Linked DNA regions of Homo sapiens: regions 2 and 3 are each linked to region 1. The links are contacts of gene promoters, found by promoter capture Hi-C in blood cells and fetal thymus (Javierre and others, 2016). All regions are on one chromosome and are shown on one strand. The core of a region is centred on a gene start or on the middle of the fragment in contact, and the rest is flanking DNA. Distances in the headings are between cores, read along the strand shown.

What was found. Contacts are between HindIII fragments. The CHiCAGO score rates a contact against its expected background, and 5 or more counts as called.
Region 2: a contact is called between a fragment that was not itself captured here and the fragment with the promoter of MTCL2 in region 1, in 1 of 17 cell types (endothelial precursors). The highest score is 5.7, in endothelial precursors.
Region 3: a contact is called between a fragment that was not itself captured here and the fragment with the promoter of MTCL2 in region 1, in 1 of 17 cell types (endothelial precursors). The highest score is 5.6, in endothelial precursors.

What each region holds. Positions count from the first base shown.
Region 1 is chr20:36,862,160-36,865,093 of GRCh38, reverse strand. It overlaps MTCL2 (microtubule crosslinking factor 2), which reads left to right and starts at 1,556. Exons shown (of 15, transcript NM_080627.4): 1 at 1,556-2,436. The coding sequence starts at 1,750. RefSeq lists silencers at 847-1,736, 1,807-1,956. The HindIII fragment of the contact is 4,947 bases long and covers 1-2,698 here.
Region 2 is chr20:36,626,051-36,628,984 of GRCh38, reverse strand. All of the region lies in intron 5 of SLA2 (Src like adaptor 2), which reads left to right. Among named protein-coding and RNA genes, the nearest start is that of SLA2, 19 kb to the left of the region's middle. The HindIII fragment of the contact is 279 bases long and covers 1,286-1,564 here.
Region 3 is chr20:36,646,248-36,649,181 of GRCh38, reverse strand. No RefSeq gene overlaps it. Among named protein-coding and RNA genes, the nearest start is that of SLA2, 1.5 kb to the right of the region's middle. The HindIII fragment of the contact is 878 bases long and covers 1,107-1,984 here.

The DNA.
Region 1 (2,934 bases), core at 307-2,806:
CAAAAACAGCCCTGCCCTTCTGGTGGCAAGGGGTGTGGGGCACCCTAAGGACGAGGGTACATCTGTGGGGCAAAGCACTCAATCCAGCTCTGCCCTGCGGTGGCTCAGGGATGGGGGCGTAGCGGCCAGGCGGTGTGGGGGCTGGGGAAGGTGTGAGAGACATGGGAAAATCAACACGGCCAGGAGCCAAGGAGACGCCCAGACGCCCGGGAGGAAAGAAAACACGCCCATCAGAGCTCAAGTCCTCCTGCACTGCTCCTGGTGGGGACGTGTGGGGTCAGGGCAACCGTCCCAGCCCATGCCAGCCCCCACGGGGGCCAAAACCGCCTTCCAAAGCATCCGCTAGGCTGACATCTCGTAATAGGTCCCCTCCATTTTATTTTTGTTTTTATTTATTTGTTTATTTTTTTGAGATGGAGTCTAGCTCTGCCACCCAGACTGGAGTGCAGTGGCGCGACCTCGGCTCACTGCAACCTCCGCCTCCCGGGTTCAAGCGATTCTCCTGCCTCAGCCTCCCGAGTAGCTGGGATTACAGGCACGCGCTACCACGCCCGGCTAATTTGTGTATTTTTAGTAGAGACGGGGTTTCATCATGTTGGTCAGGCTGGTCTCGAACTCCTGACCTCGTGATCCACCCGCCTCGGCCTCCCAAAGTGCTGGGATTACAGGCATGAGCCACCGCGCCTAGCTACGGGTCGCTTCCATTTTAGCCGTACAGAGCCTGAAACCCGGGTCGGGGGCGCATGGGGAGAAATATCCGCCGGTCAAGGTGCGCGAGCCAGGCATGCACACAGGGCTTCACGGTCCCTATGCCAGGAGAGGGAAGCCGAGGCAGGGGGAGCCCGAGCGCGCCCGGGAGGTGTGAGCTTTGGGTCCCATCGGCGCCGCCTAGACCGTGAGCTTGGCGCGTGCACCCCAGGCTTCAGTTTACGCATCTGTGCGATGGGATCGCGGCTCCGGCGATGCCGGCTAAGGGGGCGGAGTTCGCGCACGCTCGGCACGGGGCGAGGGGCGAGGCGCTGGGCGTGCATGGATGCGGGTTCCTGCGAACTGAGGTCCGCCCGGCCTCGGCCCGGGAGTCCCGGCTCCCGCCGCTCTCGCAGGCCCTGCCCGGACGCCGGGCGCAGGGGCGCCTCCGCCGGGTGCCTTCCCCGAGCGGGCAGGGGAGGAGGCGGCGGAGCGGAGGAGGAGGGAGCCCGGGCCGCGGCTGCCCGCGCCAGCCTGACCCTCGAAGGGGTCGCTGTTGCCTCGCAGATCCCTCCCTCGCTCCCTGCCTGCGTCCCTCCCTGCCGCTCCCGCCGCGTCCGCCTTTTGTTCGCGGAACCGCGCGCCCCCGAGCCGAGGCGGCGGGGCGGGGAGCTGGCGGGGCTGCGCGGGGGGCGGGCTGCGCCGGGCGGAGCCGGGGCCCGGGCCGCAGCCGGACTCGGAGCCCGAGGGAGCGATCGGCGTGCGGGCGGCGGGGGCCCGGGCGCGCTCCGGGGGCGCGGCGAGGCCGAGGGGGCGGGCGCCGGGCGGAGCCGCAGCCGGAGCCGGGGCGCCTGGAGGCGGTCGGGCCGCACTCTCCGAGCCCAGAGCAGCGGAGAGACCGCGCGGCGGGGCTTGGGACGGGGACGCGGTGTCGGGGCCGAGGTGGGCCGAGAGCAGCCGCAGCCCCAGCGGCCGGAGCCGCGCCGGGTCCCTCCCCAGGGACGTCGAGGCCGGGCGGGCCTGGGCCATGCGCGCAGCTCGCTGAGGCCGAGGGAGGCCGCGATGGAGGCGCCGGCGGCCGAGCCCCCGGTCCGGGGCTGCGGTCCCCAGCCCGCGCCTGCACCCGCGCCTGCCCCGGAGAGGAAAAAGAGCCACCGCGCGCCGTCGCCGGCCCGGCCCAAAGACGTGGCCGGCTGGTCGCTGGCTAAGGGCCGCCGCGGCCCAGGCCCGGGCTCAGCAGTCGCCTGCAGCGCCGCGTTCTCCTCACGGCCGGACAAGAAGGGGCGCGCAGTGGCTCCCGGGGCGCGCGGTGCGGGTGTGCGGGTGGCCGGGGTCCGCACCGGGGTCCGTGCCAAGGGCCGTCCGCGCTCGGGTGCGGGGCCGCGACCGCCACCGCCGCCCCCCAGCCTCACGGATAGCAGCTCGGAGGTGTCGGACTGCGCGTCGGAGGAGGCGCGCCTGCTGGGCCTGGAGCTGGCGCTGAGCAGCGACGCCGAGTCCGCGGCCGGGGGCCCGGCGGGGGTCCGTACGGGGCAGCCGGCCCAGCCCGCGCCCTCCGCGCAGCAGCCCCCGCGGCCGCCCGCCTCCCCGGACGAGCCGTCGGTGGCCGCGTCGTCGGTGGGCAGCAGCCGCTTGCCGCTCAGCGCCTCGCTTGCCTTCTCCGACCTCACCGAGGAGATGCTGGACTGCGGGCCCAGCGGCTTGGTGCGGGAGCTGGAGGAGCTGCGCTCGGAGAACGACTATCTCAAGGTGGGGGCGCCCGGGTAGAAAGGGAGGTCGCAGGGGTCGCCGGCTGTCACAGTCCCGCGGGCCTGAGGCACCAGCCGGCCCTCCTTCCCACTGAACAATCCGGAGAAAGGGGCCCAAGCCCTCTGGGGACCACTCTGAGGTGGATCTGGGGCTCCCTCATTCCCCCCGCCCCCTCTCAACTTTATTTGGGAAGCGCGCTCCTGAAAAAGACCTTGGAACTGGCTACAGGGCCCTAACCTGGGAGCGGGGACTTGAGAAAGCTTTGGAGCGTTCTGGGAGGCGTTGCTGAGGTGGGGGTGGGTAGCCAGGGAAGGGATGGATCTCTGCCTTCAGCTGCCCAGAACCTCCACGCCCAGGCTCTCCTTCTTGGGACGGGATTGATAGACACCGCCGCCAGGGAAACCTGTGGCCATCCCCTGCCCAGGAAAGGCCTGAATGCCATCCTGAGTCGTTACCCAGGGCTTTCCCGGGCGCAGGCCTGTCTCTGCCTGCCTTTCT
Region 2 (2,934 bases), core at 176-2,675, 240 kb after region 1:
ATCAAAGAGGAAGATGAAAAATGTTAGTTGGGGGAGGAGAAAAGAAAGAAGAAATTTGCCAATTTTCCAGGAAAGGTAAAATTTTCCTGCGGGTCATGGTTGATTTGTGGGTCAAGAAATCAGTTTAGGGGCCAGGTGCAGTGTCTCACACCTGTAATCCCAGCACATTGTGAGGCCAAGGCAGGAGGATCACTTGAGTCCAGGAGTTCAAAACCAGTCTGGGCAACAAAGGGAGACCCCCATCTCTTAAAAAAAAAAAATTTTTTTTTAAGTTAGCTAGGTGTGGTGGCATGTGCGTGTTGTCTAAGCTACTTGGGAGGCTGAGGCAGGAGGATCACTTAAGCCCAAGAAGTCGATGCTGCAGTGAGCTATGATCACACCACTGGACTCCAGCCTGGGTGACAGACCAAGACCCTGTCTCAAATAAATAAATAAATTCAATAAATCAACACTGATGCCTGTACCCCACCTCCAGGGTTTCTGATCTCACTGGTCAGGGATGTGGCCTGCACACTGTAAAAGCTGCCCAGGTGATTCTGATGGGTAGCCAGGGTCGGAACCCACTAATTTAGTGCGTCTGGACCAGTGCGTGTTTGTAGTGAAATTGAGCAGAGAACATGACCATGGTTGGGGTAAACATTGCGTCATAAAACTTTTGTTTCAGATTTTGTATAAGGTGTGTCCTGCGTCACAGTGTAAACTTTTATACTGTGGTTTGACACCACAGTGACTCTAGGGGCCCAAGTGACGTCATAGAACAGTGGTTCTCAGACTTGAGTGTACAGGACTCATCAGGGGAACTTGTTGACACTGTAGACTTGTAGGCCCTACCGCAGACCTAACTGAATCAGACTTTTGGGGGCAGAGGTCAGAAATCTGCTTCTTGGACAGGCTCTCTGGATGGTTCTATTGTTCTCTTGAGTTTGAAAACAGAGTTCCAATCTAGGGAACCCAGAATGAAGTAATAAGAGACAATGTACTTTACATTATGCTCTTGTCGTATATAATGGGAATTAGCCATTGACCAAGTGAGTGAGTGATGCCAGGATCAGCTTTTCATTGGCCCAAAGGCACTGATTCCACACGAGCTTCAAGCCTGCATGTGGACCAAGGAGGAAGGCCTGGGGCCCTGAGCTACCAGGAACACTAATCAGAGTCCGGAGCAGGAAGACCCCATCTTCCCAAGTCCTTCTGGCATACCTGGCTATATGATAGGCCTCGGGACAGCCATGGCCAGGCTCTAGTCAGGCCCCAAATCTTGCTCCGTGAAGGGGGCCTAGAAGCTTTGTGGAGGTCACAGGATTGTGCAGAGGTCAGCACAGGGTTAGGGACAGGCCCCAGCAGCAGCCCCTCTGCGCTGTCCTGCTGTATATCTGTTCTGTGTCAGGCACTATAAGGGAGATTGATGAGCAAGACGTGGTTCCTGCCCCTGCAGGGCTCACCTCTGTCCACTGTCAGTTGGGAAACACTTACTGAGCATCTCCTCCGAGTCAGGCCTGCTAAGTCATGGCTTTTGTCCTCAGGGTGCAGACAGTGGAGGGTGCAACATTCAATCCCTAAAGCTTCTTAGAGGCCTCAGCAGAGAAGGTTCAGGAGGGTCCTGCTAGGCCCACTTCTCACATGCAGCTCCTTATCTGATCCCTCATCCCTCACTCCCAGCATCATCACTGGAATACCTGACCCCAGAGGTCCCGGAGGTGATGTTGCCTAAGCCTGCTGGAGCTTTCTGAAATTAGGACCTTATACTTGGCCTTTCTTTCTGGTGGGTCCTCCTCTAGGCTCCGCGTCCAGCCACAGCTTCCACTGTTCCCTCTGGACCCTCTGCCCACCAGCCACTCTGTAAACACCTTGTTCTTTCTACCGCTGCATCCTTACACATACCCCTCCCTCCATCTGGAAAGCCTGCCCTCCGCTTCTCCTCACGGCAAGCTCACACTCATCCTTCGCCATTCTTTCCAGTGGGACTTTCCCAGACTACCACCTACCCAGACTATCGCCTTCCCAGACTATCACCTACCCAGGCTATCGCCTTCCCATACTATGTCAATTTTTGTTCTCAACTCCCATAGCATCTTGAAAATACCTCTTCTGTAGCTATAATAGGTTTATCTCTTTTCTTTTCCTCTTTTTTTTTTTTTTTTTGAGATGGAGTCTTGCTGTCGCCCAGGCTGGAATGCAGTTGGCGGGATCTCGGCTCACTGCAAGCTCTGCCTCCCGGTTTCACGCCATTCTCCTGCCTCAGCCTCCCGAGTAGCTGGGACCACAGGCGGCTGCCACCACACCCGGCTAATTTTTTGTATTAGTAGAGATGGGGTTTCACCATGTTAGCCAGGATGGTCTCGATCTCCTGACCTTGTGATCTGCCCGTCTGGGCCTCCCAAAGTGCTGGGATTACAGGCATGAGCCACCGCGCCCAGACTTTTTTTTTTTTAAGACAGGGTCACCCAAGCTGGAGTGCGGTGGCACTATCTCGGCTCACTGCAACCTCCACCTCCCAGGCCCAAGCGATTCTCCCACCTCAGCCTCCTGAGTAGCTGGGACTACAGGTGAATGCTTCCACGCCCTGCGAATTTTTGTGTGTGTTTTTTTTTTTTTAGACGGAGTCTCGTTCTGTCATTGGGCTGGAGTGCAGTGGCACAATCTCGGCTCATTGCAACCTATGCCTCCTGGGTTCAAGCAATTCTCCTGCCTCAGCCTCCCGAGTAGCTAGGATTACAGGTGCGTGCCACCACGCCCAGCTAATTTTTGTATTTTTAGTAGAGACAGGGTTTCACCATGTTGGCCAGGATGGTCTTGATCTCTTGACCTTGTGATCTACCCACCTTGGCATCGTAAAGTACTGGGATTACAGGCATGAGCCACTGCGCCCAGCTGTATTTTTTTTTAAAGTCAGGGTTTTGCCATGTTGCCCTGGCTGGTCTTGAACTCCTGACC
Region 3 (2,934 bases), core at 296-2,795, 220 kb after region 1:
CAGGCCCACAAGACCGCCCCCTGCTTTAGATGCCAGGTGCAAGCAGTGGATCCCCAGGTTATTCATACTTCTGTCCAACCTGGCTACAAACTAGACCCCCTCCCTCAGGTTTGATAGTTCGCTAAGATGGCTCACGGAACTCAGGGAAACACTGAATTTACCGGTTTATTATTCAAAAGGATATGAGGCTGGGTGCAGTGGCTCACACCTGTAATCCCAGCAGTTTGGGAGGCAGGAGGACTGCTTGAGCCCAGGAGTTCAAGACCAGCCTGGGCAATATAGTGAGACCCTGTCTGTATTCTAGAAACAGAAAAAAATAAAATAAAAAGGATACGATAGGCTGGGCACGGTGGCTCACGCCTGTAATCCCAGAACTTTGGGAGGCCGAGGTGGGTGGATCACGAGGTCAGGAGATTGAGACCATCCTGGCTAACACGGTGAAACCCCGTCTCTACTAAAAATACAAAAAGTTAGCTGGGTGTGGTGGTGGGTGCCTGTAGTCCCAGCTACTCAGGAGGCTGAGACAGGAGAATGGTATGAACCCGGGAGGCGGAGCTTGCAGTGAGCCGAGATTGCGCCACTGCACTCCAGCCTGGGTGACAGAGCAAGACTCTGTCTCAAAAAAAAAAAAAAAGGATACGATAAAGGATACAGGTAAATGGCCAGATAAAGAAGTATGTAGGAGGCTGGACACAGTGGCTCAAGCCTGTAATCCCAGCACTTTGGGAAGCCAAGGCGGGTGGATCACCTGAGGTCAGGAGTTCGAGACCAGCCTGGCTAACATGATGAAACCCCGTCTCTACTAAAAATACAAAAATTAGCTGGGCGTGGTGGTGCACACCTGTAATCCCAGCTACTCAGGAGGCTGGGGCAAGAGGATTGCTTGAACCCGGGAGGCAGAGGATGCGGTGAGCCTAAATTGTGCCACTCCACTCCAGTCTGGACAACAGAGCAAGAATCTGTCTAAAAATAATAATAATAATACATAGAGCAAGGTCTGGAGGGGTCCCAGGGAGTTGGGGTGTGCCACCCTTCTGGTGTGTTGGATGTGTTCACCAACCTGGAAACTCTCTGAACCTCGTACTTTAGGGATTTTTATGGAAGCTTCATCACATAAGCATTATCAATTATTAACTCAATCTCGAGCTCCTCTCCCCACTCCAGAGGATGAGGTGGGACTGAAAGCCCCAAGCTCATAATGATGGCTTTGTCTTTCTAGTGACCAGTCCCCATCCAGGAGCCCACCAAGTGTTGCCTCATTAGAACAGAAAACACTTCTGTCACCGAGGAAATTAGAAGGGTTTTAGCAGCTCTGGCCAGGAGCCAGGGAGGAACACCAGTGCATATTTCTTAGTGGATAGACCTAGGATTTTAAATTTTGTAATTCTTAGGTGCCTCCCTAAGTAGAAAAGGAGAGTTATGCCGTGGGATTCTTTTAAGAAGAGACCAGAGATTCCCTACTTCCTGCCCCATTCATGAACTGCACCTTGAGGCTTGTTTTGAAGATGTGCGTATCATAAGAAGACGGGCATTACAGTTGTATGGCAGCAGGAGTGGGAAGGTGGGCTCAAGCTCAAGTCCCTCCCTGCCAAGGCCCACATCCCTGAGTGGCTGTCACCCATTCTAACGTCCTGATTAGAACTCTCTTGCAGAAGTGTGCCTCCACTCTGGCTCCTTCAGCTCTGTGTGCCAAGTGCCTACAAGGATAAAAATCAAACCAGCCTTCCCTAGGATCAAAGGAGAACCTGAGCAGGAGTGCTGTAGCTGGCAAGGCCCCAGAAAGGGCTGCATGGGCTGAGCTGGAGTCAGGAATCATTTCAGTGCAGTGGGCCCTTTGTCTCCAAGAGTACTAATCCCCCTAATGGGGAAGCAGCGAGAGGGTGTGGTTAAATCTTAATGAAGAGTGGGACTGAAGGTAACACACTGATCAAAGACAATTCAGCCAGAGTCAGATTCTTTATCCTAGACCAGTGATTCTCAAGCTTGGGCATGGACTGTGGCTCATGCTTGTAATCCCAACACTTAGGGAGGTGGAAGTGGGAGGAACAATTGAGGCCAGGAGTTTGAGATTAGATGGAGCAGCACAGTGAAACCTCATCTGTACAAAAAAAATTTAAAATTAGCCAGGAGTGCTGGTGCACACCTGTAGTCCTAGCTACTCAAGGCTGAGAAGGGAGGATTACTTGAGCCTGGGTCAAGGCTGCACTAAGCTATGATTGTGCCACTGCACTCTATCCTGGGTGACAAAGCAAGACCCTGTAAAAAAAAAAAAAAAAAAAAAAAAAAAAAAATCAAGCCTGGGCATGCATCGGAATCACCTGGAGGCATGAAAACAGATTGCTGGGCCTACCTCCAGAGTATGATTCCATAGATCTGGGATGCGGCCTGAGAATTTGCATGTCTAACAAATTCCCGCTGAGGCTGCTGGTCTAGGGACCATACTTGGAGACCACTGTCCAGATACTGCTGCTATTCAAAGTGTGGTCCCCAGACTGGCAACATGGGGGTCACCTGGGAGCGTATTAGAAATGCAAAATACTGAACTCTGCCCCAGACCTTCTGAATCAGAGCCTGCAGTGCAACAAGATCCCCAGGTGATTCCTATACACATTAAAGGCTGAGAAGGCAGTGCTTCCCACACTCGTCAGTCAAGGGAATCTCCTGCAGGGTTTAAAATTTAGATTCCTGGGCTCCCTATCTGGAGACTTGGATTTAGAAAGTTTGGGAGATCCCAGAAATTGCTACAATTAAGTCCCGCTGAGTGATTATTATGGTCAGGCCAGCATGGGAACTCCGGCTCATTTTCCTCAGTCCTGTGTTCCTTGGACAAGACTAAGCCACAAAGCCAGAGAAAAACCTTTTGCTCCACGATCATGACAAGGCAGCAGCTGCTCCCCTAGAAACAGGAACTTGGGGAAGGTGGCTCCTCGACGG